Linked DNA regions of Homo sapiens: region 2 is linked to region 1. The links are contacts of gene promoters, found by promoter capture Hi-C in human tissues and cell types (Jung and others, 2019). All regions are on one chromosome and are shown on one strand. The core of a region is centred on a gene start or on the middle of the fragment in contact, and the rest is flanking DNA. Distances in the headings are between cores, read along the strand shown.

The links. Contacts are between HindIII fragments. The study calls those that stand out against the background at their distance.
Region 2: a fragment that was not itself captured here is called in contact with the fragment with the promoter of DNASE1L3 in region 1 in 8 of the 25 tissues and cell types used here (H1 embryonic stem cells, IMR-90 fibroblasts, aorta and 5 more).

The regions. Positions count from the first base shown.
Region 1 is chr3:58,209,145-58,212,463 of GRCh38, reverse strand. DNASE1L3 (deoxyribonuclease 1L3) reads left to right here and starts at 1,492. Exons shown (of 8, transcript NM_004944.4): 1 at 1,492-1,698. The coding sequence starts at 1,558. The HindIII fragment of the contact is 9,412 bases long and covers 1-2,443 here.
Region 2 is chr3:58,281,435-58,284,753 of GRCh38, reverse strand. The region is part of intron 7 of ABHD6 (abhydrolase domain containing 6, acylglycerol lipase); the gene reads right to left. Among named protein-coding and RNA genes, the nearest start is that of RPP14, 23 kb to the left of the region's middle. The HindIII fragment of the contact is 5,775 bases long and covers 1-3,319 here.

The sequences.
Region 1 (3,319 bases), core at 243-2,742:
GCCCATTCACCAAGAAAGACAATTAACCATTCCCTAGAGCTCCTTTTTTTTTGTTTTTGTATTTTATTGAGATGGAATCTCACTCTGTTGCCCAGGCTGGAGTGCAGTGGTGCAATCTTGGCTCACTGCAGCCTCTGCCTCCCAAGTTCAAGCCATTCTCCTGCCTCAGCCTCCCAAGTAGCTGGGATTATAGGCGCCCACCACCACGCCTGGCTAATTTTTGTATTTTTAGTAGAGACAGGGTTTCACCATGTTGGCCAGGCTGGCCTTGAACTCCTGACCTCAAGTGATCCACCCACCTCAGCCTCCCAAAGTGCTGGGGCTACAGGAGTGAGCCACTGCGCCCGGCCCAGAGCCACCTTTACCAGAGATTCAACCAGGCCTGAGGTCTTAGGTTGCAGACAACAGGGAGATTCATTGCAGCACGAACTCAGGAAACCATTTCCTTCCATGTACTATTTGGGGTTATCTTATAGAATTCCTGGCATGCTTGGCCAGTATGCTGCCTGGATGTATGTTGGGGATATATGTATAATTTTCCCTGTGGCTGTGGCCACAGACCCATCACCACAAGAGGGGTTGGTCCACAGATCCCGATGCTGGCTTGGAGTTATTCTTATTCCCTACCCTTTTCACAGAATTGTCTTTGCCAAAGTCCATTAATATACCTTGATTGGATTTTGCTTTTTTTTTTAATTTTTTTTTGCTTTACAGATCTTCATAGTTTCCTGCCCATATCTCTAAAAGTCATTTTGCTTGAGTTGATATCCTACAGTTCTTACAAGACCTTTCTCTCCCAGGGTCACACAACTCTCGCCAATATTAAATTAATATCAGCTTCAATCACGGGTCTCTCCATGGGTTTCACGGGCTATTTGCTCGCAGAGTCCAGGGACATTTTCCTCATCCATTCCATCAGATCCCCAATTGCTTTCTCTGGCAACACACTCCTAGTATTTGTACGGTAAAGCTGCCTAAAAAAATTAAGTAATTCAAACTACTCTTGACCTTACTTTACACCACCAGGGCAATTAGAGTCACAGTCTGGGTGTGTCTGAGGACAGCAGGCCGCCAAATCCCAGTGATTTAGAGAAAACCGAGCAGAATTTCCCATGCCTCCTGCCTCATTGTCCCCCAGCAGAAGGTTCCGTCACCCCAGGTGCCCTCTAGGGTGGACCACTTCCGAGTTCATCCACTGTCAGGAAAAGGCACATGGCATGCAACCGCAAGACCGATGACTAGATGTCAGAGCTGGCTCCCGGTTGGGATATGAGTGACTTTGTGGAGGATGGCGCCTAAATGAGGCATGCCAATTTCTGCACCAGGGTGACGAACATAAGGGCTCCTTAAAGGCTAGCCCAATGTATCTGTATTTCCTTGGGGATTAAAACCCATGATCTTCAGTTCCTCAGAGAACTGAAAGTTGCAAGGAGAAATCCAGTAATTCCTGTTATCTGCAGGCTTTATAAGTCAGTGGAGCCTGCGGAAGTGGCCAGAATCCAGCACTCCAAGCACTGCTGTCTTCTCACAGAGTCTTGAAGCCAGAGCAGCGCCAGGATGTCACGGGAGCTGGCCCCACTGCTGCTTCTCCTCCTCTCCATCCACAGCGCCCTGGCCATGAGGATCTGCTCCTTCAACGTCAGGTCCTTTGGGGAAAGCAAGCAGGAAGACAAGAATGCCATGGATGTCATTGTGAAGGTGAGCCCCTTTCCTGGGAGGAGGATCCCAGACACCCCTCACACCCTCTCTCCTGTCTGCAGACTTTAAGAGACTCAAGGAACTTAAAGTTGGCCCTTAGGGGGAATGTAGAAGCTGGCTTGGAACAATAACCACTTCAACTCTCTGTACCTCCTGCCGTCATCTTAAAACAGGGGTGATAACAATGGTTCCCTCCAGGGTTGCTGGGGGGACTACAGGAGTTGGCAAATGGAAAGCTCTTAATGTAGTATCTGGCTCATTATACGTTCCAGATAAGGGTTAGCCATTATGATTTTTATTGCTATTTATTGAATGCCTGTATCAGGCACTATAAGCACATGGTTTCACTTCATAATCTTTATGAAGAGGGACTATTACTCCCCATGTAGAGGTGATGAACAAAGAAAGATGAAGTAACCTTATACAGCTACTCCTTTTCACCAGCAAAGCCCAGCTCCTTTCTCTCTCTTTCCTTTTCTTCTTTCTTTCTTTTCTTTCTTTCTCTCTTTCTTTCTTTCTTTTTCTTTCTTCCTTTTTCTTTCTTCCTTTTTCTTTCTTCTTTCTGTCTTTTCTTTCTTCTTCCTTTCTCTTTTTCTTTGTTTCTTTCTTCCTTTCCCTTCCTTACTTTTTTCCTTCCTTCCTTCTCTCTCCCATCCTCATCATCCCTCCCTCTCTTTGTCTTTCTTTCTTCTTCTCCTCCTTCCTTCCTCTCTCCCTCTCCTCTACTTCCCCACTCCTTCCACTTTCGCTTACGCTTTCCTTGGGTGATATACCCAATGTCCGGGGACACTGCTTGCTTTCTCTGGAGTCAATTGACTCCCTTTATCCTACAGGTTAATTAATTTTTGATGCTGGCAACTTAACCCTTTCCCAGGACTCTGGAAAGGTACTTATTACCTTAGGAAACCTGAGACACCATGGTGTGGTAGGGGGGCCAGGAGCCCTGGGTCCAGATTCCACCTACCAGACTTGTGAGCTTGGGAGGCCCTGCCCCTCCCTGAACCACCAGCTCCCCTAGTAAAATGGCGACCACATCCAAATACCACCTGTAGCACTGGCTGGTGAAGAGAACTCAGGGTGCCTGAGGCACCCAGCAGAGCCTGCAGCAAGGTGGGTATTCATGAGCCAGAGCCGCTGCTGTTGCTGTCACTGGGAAGGAGGATTGGAGTGAGGACTGGCAGGCTCTGTTCTTCCTTGGACGAGCCTCTCAGACCCAGGTGGCCCTGCCCTTTGGGAGGTAACCAAGGCCTTCTAGATGGTGTTGTTTAGCCAGGATAGCAATGCCAAGCCTGTGGGAGCCATGACAAGATTGTTCAATGGGAAACCCTGACATGCAAGGCAATGATTTTCCCCACTTCACACATGGCCCGTGGAGCCTGGGTAGCCACTGAGTTCCCATCTCCTTCCTCACTGATGAAACCCGGCTGTCTTTTTGTTCCTTGGTGAGTCCATCATGGGGGCTTGAACTCTGCATCTCCCCTGAGCAGCTGTGTCCTGCAGAGCATGTCCGAAGTCCTTGTCAAGGCTGCCTCACCCTCCCCATCCTACCAAGAGGCCATCCCCAAAACACTGCAAGAGCTACCCTACAGGGCACTCACAGTCACCCGAGAATGCCAGGCAT
Region 2 (3,319 bases), core at 555-3,054, 72 kb before region 1:
ATGGGCCGGGCATGGTGGCTCATGCCTGTAATCCCAGCACTTCAGGAGGCCAAGGCGGGCAGATCACTTGAGGCCAGGAGTTCAAGACCAGCCTGGCCAAATGGTGAAACCCCCATCTCTACTAAAAAGACAAAAACTAGCAGGATGTGATGGTGCAGGCCTGTAATCCCATCTACTCGGGAGGCTGAGGCAGGAGAATCACTTGAACCCAGGAGGCGGAGGTTGCAGTGAGCTGAGATTGCGCCACTGCACTCCAACCTGGGCGACAGTGAGACTCTATCTCAAAAAAAAAAAAAAGACATAATGAGGATGACCATAATATCAAGTAATTCGCCAGTAATATCCAAACGCAGAACAAGTTCCATTAAAAAAATTAAGCCACTGGGGGATGATAGGTCTATTAAACAACAAAGAAATAAACTATTGAAAAGATTCTGGGGAGGGTTCCACAGTCCCACTGGGAGGGTTCAACAGCCCTTTGTTTATCATTTGACACTGTCTTTGCCTTCCCTGCTGAGGGCTGGTGAGGGCTGCAGCCAATGTGGACAGGCCACATCTTCTGGACCTGGGCTACTGACCCAAAGAGGTAGTGGTGGCTGGAAGGAACACAGTTCTTCTCTTCCTCCTGCCTCAGGACTCCTGAGGTAGAGTACAGGGTTCACATTAGTGGCTGTACTCCTCTACTCCTCTCCTCTACCTGCAAACAGGTCTGAACCCTTTAATTACACTCTCTCAGGAGTCCTGTGCACTGACTGAAAGTGGGGAAGAACCAGCCATGGCTGCTATGGACTAAACCAACCCTCTGGAGCATCACTAGACTCTAACTCATTCAGCCTGGACATGAGGACAATGACAATTTGTTGAATAACAACATTGTGCTCAGCATCAGAGATTTTCTTTGTTCAGCTATCCACCTGTACCCACATATCTATTCATCTTGTGTCCATCCATCCTCCACCTCTGCTCAATGCAGCCATCCATCCTGAACCACATATGCATTTGTCTACCTATCTATCCTGTATTCATCAATCCATCCAACCTCCATCTCTGCATTAACCAGATATCCTCCCATCCATCCATCCATCCAACCATTCAGCCATCTATCCATCCTGCAGACCTAAATCATCTGTGCACTGGCACATCAATCAATTCATGCAAAAATCTATCCTGCATCTACCCACCCATCCATTGTCCATCCCTGCATTATCCAGGCATCCTCTCATCCATCAATCCATCCAATCTATACCTAGGACCTACTTCATGCAAGCACTGTGCTAAAGTCTGGGGATAGAACAGCCAATTAAGACAAAGTCCCTAGTGGAAGACACAGACGTGCAATCACAACACAATATGACATGGTGGGCTGAGTGTGCAGGTGCTCCTTCTCTCCTAGGAAGGAAAGACTTTTGGAGCTGCCATTTATTTTTCTCTTGGTGTTTTCATATCCCTGACAACCCAAAACATGGAGTTTTCTAAAACATCATTTGGCCACTCTATTCTGGGAAGAGATCAGTGCTGGGAGAAAGGAATGCTACTTCATGGCTAAAAAGGGATTTCAGGGGTGGAACATGCCACAGCATCAGATTCTGGGTGTTTCCTGAGGGACAGGCCGTATCTATTAACTGAGCCATGTTCACAACTTCTGAATGGGATCTATTCCCTCAAGTCTTAGGAGGACCTGCCCACCTCCAGGCAGGGTCCAGCTCCTACAACAGAGGGAGATAATTTGGGGTTATGAAGCCTCAGCCATGGACTCTCCTCTCTTGGTTCTTCACACCATTTCCCTAGATGACTTCATTCAGTCCCATAACCTTCAATATTAGCGTCTGCTGATGGCTCCAGTGGTACAGCTTCAGGCCAGACTTCCCTCAGCTACACCTTGACCTCTGCACTTGGAGGCCTCACAGGCAACCTGAACTTAACACATGAAAAATGGAGTCCTTGGCATATTCCCCAAGCCTGCCCTTCTACTCTTCAGAATATACTACCTCTGTTTTTGTTTTTGTTGTTGTTTTTTTGAGACAGGGTCTCACTCTGTTGCCCAGGATGGAGTGCAGTGGCATGATCTTGGCTCACTGCAGCCTCTGCCTCCTGGGCTCAGGTGATCCTCTCACCTCAGCCTCCCGAGTAGCTGGATCTACAGGCACGCACCACCACACTTGGCTAATTAAAAAAATTTTTTTTTGTAGAGATGGGGCTTCACCACGTTGCCCAGGCTGGTCTCGAACTCCTGCATTTACACAATCCACCCGCCTTGGCCTCCCAAAGTGCTGGGAATACAGGTGCAAGCCACCATGCCCAGCCAGGACCTCAAGTGCTGGAAGTCACCTGGGACTCCTCCCCTTTCCCCAGCCCCCATTTCCAATTTGCCTGTACATCCTGTCCATTCTTTCTCAAATCTCATCTCCATTGCTACCATCCTAGTCTACACCACCATCATCTCCAAGGCACAATAGTTCCCAAATGGGTTCCTCTGTTCCATTTGTGCTCTCCTACAATCTCTCAGTGGTCCTATTATACTTAGAAAAACTCCTGGCTCCTTTCCGTACCTATAAGGTCCTACAGGATCTAGTCCAGCATTTTTCAAAGTGGTTCTTGGGAGTCTAGGAGGTCAAACTACTTTCCTAATACTCAATGTTACTTGCCTCTTCACTTACATTCTCTCAAAAGTACACTGTTTTTCAGAGCCTATAAAATGTGGGATGATGTCCTTGCTCTTGGCTACTGGAATAAGTGCTTGTACATTCATTGCATTTTGGAATCTTCTGAGTTTTCATTTATTTTCTTTTATTTGTATTTAAATAGAGATGGGGTCTCGCTACGTTGACCAGGCTGGTCTTGAACTCCTAGTCTCAAGCAATCCTCCCATCTTGGCCTCCCAAAGTGCTAGGATTACAGGCATGAACCACCGCACCCGGCCTGAGTTTTAATTTCTAATATGGTAAACATTAATAATAAATATAACCCCTATAAATAAAAACCCTTTGGGTTCCTCAACAATTTTTAAGAGTATAACGAGGATAGGTTCCAAGATGGCCGAATAGGAACAGCTCCGGTCTGCGGCATCCAGCGTGATCAACGCAGAAGGCGGGTGATTTCTGCATTTCCAATTAACGTACCTGGTTCATCTCACTGGGACTGGTTGGACAGTGGGTGCAGCCCACAGAGGGCGAGCTGAAGCAGGGCAGGCATCGCCTCACCTGGGAAGTGCAAGGGGTCGGGGGATTTCCCTTTCCTAGCCAGGGAAGCCATGACAGACTGTACCTGGAAAACTGGGACACTCCTGCCCAAATACTGCACTTTTCCCAAGGTCTTAGCA